3 separate regions of the Homo sapiens genome follow, and regions 2 and 3 are each linked to region 1. Evidence: promoter capture Hi-C in 16 types of primary human blood cells and fetal thymus (Javierre and others, 2016). All regions are on one chromosome and are shown on one strand. Each heading gives the region's core, a stretch centred on a gene start or on the middle of the fragment in contact. The rest is flanking DNA. Distances are from core to core; before and after follow the strand shown. Region 1 holds the start of LINC02453 (long intergenic non-protein coding RNA 2453). Region 2 overlaps APAF1 (apoptotic peptidase activating factor 1). Region 3 has its middle 94 kb from the start of APAF1.

Region 1 (2,826 bases), core at 149-2,648:
TTTAGGATGACACAAATTATCAAATTATCCGATTAGTGCACTTTCCTAACCCATATGTTTAATCAGTGGCACATCCTGGTTTTGAATTATTTAAACGCATTATTATTTAGCCATTCACATACTTACGTTTGTCACTTCCAGTTAAACTGTAGCCACCTACAGAGAGCGAAACAGAAGTCGGCTGATAAAATTTTGATAAAATTTCATTTGCCCGCAGCTGGTCATTTCATTGGGCGCTTTTGTGTTACAAAAGTGTGTGAATTGGCCGGGCGCGGTGGCTCACGCCTGTAAATCCCAGCACTTTGGGAGGCCGAGGCAGGTGGATCACTAAAGGTCACGAGTTCGAGACCAGTCTGGCCAACATGGTGAACCCTCCCCCCCCCCACACACACACACACACCCCGCGTCTCTAGTAAAATACAAAAATTAGCCAGGCATGGTGGTGCGCGCCTGTAATCCCAGCCACTCGAGAGGCTGAGGCGGGAGAATCACTTGAGCCTTGGAGGTGGAGGTTGTAGTGAGCCCAGATCGCAACACTGCACTCCAGCCTAGGGGACAGAGCGAGACTTCCTCTCAAAAAAAAAAGACTTATGAATTGTTTGAAGAGGCACGAGACCGTGGCAACCCTAACTGTCCCCGACATCTGGCAGCCATATGCTATCCTTGAACTTGAACTTCAGAGTGAAAGTATAAATTTGTAAGGGGAAGGCTCAGCCGCAAGTCACATACCAGTGGTCAGTTAAAAAAAAAAAACTCAGGACGGCAACCTAAATCATTTAGAACGCGTCAAGAGCCTCGGAAAAACTATTTTCACACACTTCTCTAGCACTAACATGGGAAGCGCGTTTCCTTCACATATTCCACACCTTTTATTCTTCCCACCAACATCAAGAATACAAAGCGCCCAGAGAGGACAATAAGCCTAAGCAGCGGCTCCAAGAGACCGGACTTTCGTACTTCCCGGGGGCAGGCGGAAGGTTACGGAGCGCTGGAAGGATCTTACTGCTCCTTGAAGGGCTGTCTGAGAAAATACACAGCCTAACGACTCCTCGTTAGTATAGTGGTTAGTATCCCCGCCTGTCACGCGGGAGACCGGGGTTCAATTCCCCGACGGGGAGGTGTGTAGCTGCACTTTTTTGGCGACAGTTATTATTTTCTGTATCATTCAATGACAGGACACTGCTGTTAAACATAATATGCTAAACCAGCTCCCTTAAGTGCACAACCCTGTCTTCAAAATGGTGACTTTTAACCTTAATGCCCACCATGAAGTGAAAGCCTCCCCTGAGAGAAAATGCCTTACATTGTTTGCAGGAAGGGAGGAAAGGGAAAAAGAAAACGCTCTGAAGGCCTCTGCCCTTGCCTCCAGCCGCCATCTTGCGAAGGCCTGCGCCGGCTTAGTGGCGCCCCGCCAGATTACAACTCGAGGTCGCGAACTCAGCGCGCGGAACCTGTTGGGGGAGGGGAGAGAGGGCGGAGTCTCGCGACTAACGGGGCGGGGGCAGGGCGGGTAAGAACGGAAATCATTTGGTAAAGAAAAGGAAGGGCCAATTTCCTTTGATCCTGGAGACCCGACTAAACGGGAAGCCCCGTTCTCCCGCTTCCGCTGGTTACGTCCCAGCCTTGGTTAGAGGACTAGCAGTCAGGAAAGTTTGGACGCTGAAGGAATCGGTCTCCTGGTCCGACAGATACTGGGTGGAGGGGCAGAGAGTAAATGGAAGAGAAAGACTGGTACCCCTGGAAGAAACGCCATTTACTGGTGTCCTAAGAAACTGCGCGAGCCACAGCCCAGCAGGACCTCGTGGCGCAACGGTAGCGCGTCTGACTCCAGATCAGAAGGCTGCGTGTTCGAATCACGTCGGGGTCAAACTTTTTTTTTTTCCTCCTGTATTTTAAACTACCGACTACTAGAAGCCGAGGTGTATTCCTGCCGCCAATTTTCTTGAATGTTAGAATTAAGTTTTCCTCTTTCAGGTATTATGATACTAATCCTTGGTTTGCAGGAAGATATGATTTACTCTATATCGAAGAGCCTCAAGGCTGATGTTTTTATCATTTGGCCTTTTAAAGTGAGTTTTTTTGTCACTTAACATGCATAATGTGTAAAGAGGTGGACTATTACTGCTGTGCATTAGTGGGTGTATCAGTCCACTAGTCTATCACAGGAAGTGTACAATATACTGTACAAGCTGTTTTTTCCAAACAGTTTTAGGCTGTTTGCCTTTTGAAAGAGAGTACAATAGTGTACAATTTCTAATTTTGAATATTATGCTAATCAAGTGTCTTAGCCCTTACCATGTGCCAACACTGTGAACAACCTCACAATGTGTGACTATTATCCCACTTTTACAAATGTGGCTGTGGCTCACAGGGTTAGTGACCTGCCAAGGGTCACCCAAGATTCTGAACCAGGTGAGGGACTCTGGATCCCTCTTTATAAATACTTTATAATAAAGGTGGAAACAAACAGTTGAAAGAATGTGTGACTGCCAGGCTCAGTGGCTTACACCTGTAATCCTAGCACTTTGGAAGGCCAAAGTGGGTGGATCACGAGGTCAGGAGTTCAAGACCAGCCTGACCAACATGGTGAAACCCCATTTCTACTGAAAATACAAAAATTAGCTGGGCATGGTGGGGTGCACCTGTAATCCCAGCTACTCCGGAGGCTGAGGCAGAAGAATTGATTGAACCCGGGAGGCGGAGGTTGCAGTGAGCCTGGGTGACCAAGCAAGACTCCTTCTGGAGGTGGGTGGCGGGGAGGAATGTGGGAAAAGCTGTTGGACTGGGCGCCTTTTATGTTTTCACCGATTATGCGAGTGATGACTA
Region 2 (2,700 bases), core at 111-2,610, 200 kb after region 1:
AAACATGACATCTCTTATCCAGTATAGATATGTGGCATTTCTTAAACAGTGTAGGCACAGACTCTTTTCTTCTTAAAAAAGGTGGTGAGAAATGAGTCCAGTTCAGATTTCTTAGATCATTGAGTAGGATAAGATAGGATGTTCATTGCCAGGCACTAATGAATAAAATAACTCATATAAATTACTTTTTTATGATTTTGTACTTACCTGTTAAATTTTATGTTCAGAATGTATACCTAGCTGGCCCTGGAAGAATTCCACCCAGTGAAGTGCTATATTAGTTTTTTCATAAAGTAGTGAATTATTTTTTTCCTTCAAAGATGGATTAGTGCTTTTTTTTTTTGTTTTTTAATAGAAATGGGGGTCTCACTGTGTTGCCCAGGCTGGTCTTGAACTCTTGGCCTCAAGCAATACTCCCCCAGCCTTGGCCTCCCAAAATGCTGGGATTACAGGTGTATCACCTTGCCTGGCCAAAGATAGATTAGTTTTTCCAGGCTTTCTTAGTCTTCATTCCTTAGGTTGGTTTTACCACCAGGTAGTTTGAAACCCCTTCAGATCACAGTTCCAAGAAGATGGGTATGGGCCTTTTGGAAAATAGAGAAATTCACTGGGTTCACAGGCTCCTCATCAAGGGAGCCATGACTACTGCAAGCACTTCTTCAGTGTTCTCTGCTTATTTAGCAAATTTTAGTGAGTTTGCCAGCCTTGCCCATTACTGTGAAGGTGTTGGGGGAGAGTTGCTAAGCTATAGCCCTTCAACATAGAGGCACAGGTGAGAGTGAGGGCATGAGATCCATAGGCTTCTCCTAATTCTAGGTGCAGCAGTGCATGTGACACTGAAGAACTTCCCTACTGAGACTCTTCCCATTGCACACAGAGGCAGGGAGTGTGAAAAAGCTCTAGTCCTGTATGAAACAGCGGGAAGAAGTAGGGTGCTGTGGGCAGTGTTTTGTTGGGCAGAGACTTTGAATTGGAAGTGTTTTGTTTTGTGTTACTTTGTTTTTGAGACAGAGTCTCTCTCTGTCACCCAGGCTGCAGTGTAGTGTTGTAATCTCAGCTCACTGCAACCTCCACCTCCCGGGTTCAAGCTATTCTCTTGCCTTAGCTTTCTGAGTAGCTGGGATTACAGGTGCCCACCAGCATGCCCGGCTAATTTTTTTTTGTATTTTTCATGGAGATAGGGTTTCACCATGTTGGCCAGGGTGGTCTCGAATTCCTGACCTCAAGTGATCCACCTGCCTCAGCCTCCCAAAGTGCTGGGGTTTATTGGGTTTTAGATCTCCTAGGAGATCTTGAACCTTATGTGTAGATCCTCAAAGTAAATGTGGAGCGTTTGTTAGGATTTTTAGAAACAGTACTAAGTAGCAACCCCTCTTTCAGCCTTTCTTGTCACTTCTAAAGTCCTTACCCTCTGCCATCCTTAGCAATCTCCAGGAAACAATGAAAGAGTATCTTCCTTCTTGAAATGTAGGGACTCAGCTCTGGAGGCTCTGAGTGACAAAGAAATGATGGGAGAGAGATGGGGAGAAGAAAGTGGGAAGAGAGGGGAGGATTCTCAAGGGAGATTTTCAGTTTCTTAGGAGAGATTTTCAGTTGTGGAACCACTTTCATTTTTGGCCCTTAGCTCTGTATGTCCCAGCTTGGACTCTTAGAGATAAGGCGGAGAAAATTTCATATAATTAGTTCATAACCACAGAACTCACTGAATGAAAACCAGTCACTGGGCCTATGATGAGGTACTTGTTTTGTCCATGCTAGTTCTGAAATGATAAAGTAGTTCTGTAATTTAAAGTGTAATGAGAGGAACTCAGTCACATATGGTACTTCATTAGACTTGAATATATTAGAGTAATTTACAGCAGAACCCAGGATAAAATACCAGGCTGCTGGTAGACATGGTAATAAGCATGAATAACAAGAGAAATGTGTACATGTTACAATTATTGTGTTAATTTATTGTAGGTTTTACAGTCAGTTGAAATGAAGGTTAGATGACAGTATTAGTGGAAAATAATCTGAATATGGAAGCTGCTTTTGTTCATCCTATTATTTTTTGGATTGACTTTTTTAAAGTGATAAAATATTTGCATGATTCCAAAGTCAAAGTTTTATAATGCGTTATATTCAGAGAAGTCTTGCTTTCATCCCTATCCCTTCGCCTCGCTCTCCCTCCTTCCCTGCATATGTAAACTATTTTCTGTTTTTGGCTTAACTGTCCAATATTTCTTGCATATATAAGCAGATATCTATATGCATATATATCCATACCTGTATCCTTCTATATGTTCTTGTACATATTTTTCCATCTCATATAAAAGATAGTAGTGTATAGTATATAGACTCTTCTACACTTTGCTTTTTTTCTGTTAACAATATATCCTAGAGATTTGTCGTCATCAAGGTGTTTTTCTCATTGTTTTTAATGGCTGCATGATATTCCATTATGTGATTAATGTAGTTTATTCAGTTGGTTCCCTATTGATGAGTATTTAGTTTCCTAGTATTTTGCTATAAAAAATAATGATGCACTAAATAATCTTCTGCATAAGACATTTTGTAGTTTTGATAGTGTGTTTCTGAGCAATATTCATTGAAGTGGTATTGCTGGCTCATTCTTGCTATTTTCAATATTTTTGCTCTCTTCAAAATGCTTATGTATGTGATTTCCTATATGCTGTGTTTATTCTGTAGTTGTGGAAT
Region 3 (2,700 bases), core at 18-2,517, 230 kb after region 1:
GAAAGCCAGGACTGTATAGAGTCTAACATGAGCCTAGCATTGCAATGAGGGCCTCAGTAAACACTTGTTGGATGACTGGAATTCATCTCCTGAGTTCCATGGGATGAATTTGCCCACGTGTTCATAACACAGTCTATGTTCTTCCTTTCCATAAGGATATCATGAGGCTGTCAAATGAAGATGTAGCATATCACCAGCATTTTATCTTGCCGTTTTAGTTTGGCCTTTTTCTGTGAAACATCATTAGGGGAAAGTAAAACTTTACTTGGACAAAAGAGGTTTGCTACCAAATTATATAAAATGAATAAACATATCCCTGGAGTGTTTAAGTCAGCAAGTATGGCCATCTATTATTCCACAGACATTTTATATTATAATTTACTCACTGAACTTTAACGAAGGAGAAAATGATTTTCTAATAATTCTTAGTCTTTGAAGATTGTCACTGGAATACATTCCTTGCTCATAACCACTCCCCTTGGGACCGTGGATATACTATACAGTTATTAAAATGCCTGAATTAGAAAATCTGCTGCTCTTGGGCTATGAGTTTAACTATAGAAGAATTACTGTATATGCTCACACGAGAGGGGCAGAAGAAGGGGGTCACATTTGAGACGTAGCAGAGACCAGGCCTTTGAAGTCCTCTGGCATCAACAATGACTTGCTCCTGAGTCAAATGATGTGAGAAAACCAGAATTTGGGAAATTTTCATTTCAATTAAGATTCAGGAAAATGAGTCACTGGTGTTCTTTGTAAATTCATTTATGAGGTCAGGCCCCCAGAACTGGGAATGCTCCTTATCACATAGAAATGAATAGAAAAATCTGCCTCTGTAATTTCCATCACCCAGGGCTAGAATATGTAACTAGAGAGGGTGGTCGAGGCCTGAGTTTGGGTCTGGGGGTTCAGAGCAACCGATCAAACTGGAAAACTGAGCAGGTGAGTGGAGACTCCTGCTGTTCTGAGGAGCACACGTTCGCATTCATTCAAATGTTTATCGCCGCTCCACTCGAGGCACTGCCCAACTCTCATTTATCTTCACAGAAGTTGAGTGGATCTGCAGACTGCAGCTTCAGTTTTTAGATAGAGGAAGAACTAAACCCCAGCAGCTAATCGGTGACAAAGCCAGGGCTAGAATCCAAATCTGCTATTCTTTATAGATAGAAAGGCCAAGACTCTTAGGCTTGTAAGTCACCTGTCAGTCACAACTGGAAGTAGAATACTCCTGGGTTCAGTGGCAGATGACATCAGCCTAGGGGTCATAAGGCTTGGTTTCACTAGCTGGGGAAAGTCATCCAATAGCTTACGTGATGGTTTTGGAGATGTTCTTATATTCACCTTCAATTAGCAGTGAGCCCTTCACTAAGCCCTTCATCTTGGGCTTATTGCCCTACTTGCTGTCAATTAACCTCTGGAGACACACCAAGTCTTTTAGAAGGAAGGAAGGGAGCTACTATTTTTTGAGGGCCTTTTATGTGCCAAGCCCACAGGCTGGGCATTTTCCATACGTTATTTAACTGAATCATAACAGTGCTGCAAGGTGTTATCTCTTTCATAGGTGTGCAAACAGATGCAGAGAGGTTAGGTTTCCAGGGCCCCACAGCCAAGTGGTGGAGCTGGGTTTCTGGTCCACGGCCTTCTGTCTCCACTGGGTGACACTCCCTGTACCTTCTCATTGAAGCCCCTGGGCTAGAGGGTCCAAGAGCATCACTTCAGTTCTGCATTTCATTCGTTACTCACTTGCATCAGGACAGATGCATCACTACTAAGCTCTCGGAGAAGGCATCAGATGCTGTCTGCTCCCAAGGAGCTTCTACTTTTGGTAGTCTGCTTAACTTGTATCTGTGCCTGTAGAGATTGCTCTTTGAAAAAAGCAGCAGGAACATTCTGATAGAAGCCAATGGATGGGACAGGTGGGGGGAATGCGTTGGATTTGCCAGCACCTGGCCACTGCCCAACCTGCTCTCAATTCTCAGATGATTCAGGTATTGAGCAAGGAAGGTAGCAGAGCTACTGTTGCCTTCCCTTTGGGGAAGCCTGTTTCTACTTTGAAACTCTTAAGGGATTCATTTCAAATTAGTGGCAGGCCTTGGTTAGTGGATCTGTGTGCTGTCTTCTGCCATCTTGATTGCATCTCCCCCCTTCTCCTTTTCCTTTCATTTGAAAAAAGATGCAGCCCCTCAGAGCCTCACTTTCCTGATTTGTCAAATAGGGAACCTAATGTACAAGGCTTTTGTGGGGCTTAGAAAAAACATGTCAAGAATCTGATATAGATCTCAATAAACAGCATAATACTTATCTTTCGTCCCAGTTACAAACCCCCATTCCTGTACTGCCCAAATCTCCATGATTCACAAATTGCGACCCTGCTGCTTCTGCTCCATGGCAGACACCTAGCTCCAGGCACCCTCCTCTACCACCTCCTTCTCCTTATGGCCATTGGCTTTTAGGAGACAGACATTGCTTACTTAGCAGGAAAGCTGTCACCTGCTTTCTTTTGAACTATCCCGAACTTGATTCTCTTTGGGCGACGCATACACCCATCAAGTGGTAAAGAAGACTGGGAATGAGGGGAGAAAAGACCCTGGGCTTGTTGCTGGGGCCAGTAGCTTGGGAGTGTGGTGGTATGTGTGTGGCTTTGGCTGTCAAGTGGATCTAAGTTCAACCCTGGCTACACTGACTTTCCAGCTGTGTGAC

The links. Contacts are between HindIII fragments. The CHiCAGO score rates a contact against its expected background, and 5 or more counts as called.
Region 2: a fragment that was not itself captured here is called in contact with the fragment with the promoter of LINC02453 in region 1 in 5 of 17 cell types (neutrophils, naive CD8 T cells, total B cells and 2 more); the score reaches 8.7 in neutrophils.
Region 3: a fragment that was not itself captured here is called in contact with the fragment with the promoter of LINC02453 in region 1 in 1 of 17 cell types (neutrophils); the score reaches 10.5 in neutrophils.

What each region holds. Positions count from the first base shown.
Region 1 is chr12:98,502,457-98,505,282 of GRCh38, forward strand. LINC02453 (long intergenic non-protein coding RNA 2453) reads right to left here and starts at 1,399. Exons shown (of 4, transcript NR_038383.1): 1 at 1,304-1,399; 2 at 127-156. It overlaps TRD-GTC1-1 (tRNA-Asp (anticodon GTC) 1-1), which reads left to right and starts at 1,047; the gene lies at 1,047-1,118. TRW-CCA4-1 (tRNA-Trp (anticodon CCA) 4-1) reads left to right here and starts at 1,796; the gene lies at 1,796-1,867. RefSeq lists enhancers at 1,137-1,446, 1,457-1,756. The HindIII fragment of the contact is 12,452 bases long and covers 1-2,826 here.
Region 2 is chr12:98,703,794-98,706,493 of GRCh38, forward strand. APAF1 (apoptotic peptidase activating factor 1) reads left to right here. Exons shown (of 27, transcript NM_181861.2): 19 at 2,692-2,700. Among named protein-coding and RNA genes, the nearest start is that of APAF1, 60 kb to the left of the region's middle. The HindIII fragment of the contact is 4,085 bases long and covers 1-2,700 here.
Region 3 is chr12:98,737,506-98,740,205 of GRCh38, forward strand. It overlaps a transcript of ANKS1B not described here. Among named protein-coding and RNA genes, the nearest start is that of APAF1, 94 kb to the left of the region's middle. The HindIII fragment of the contact is 5,081 bases long and covers 1-2,700 here.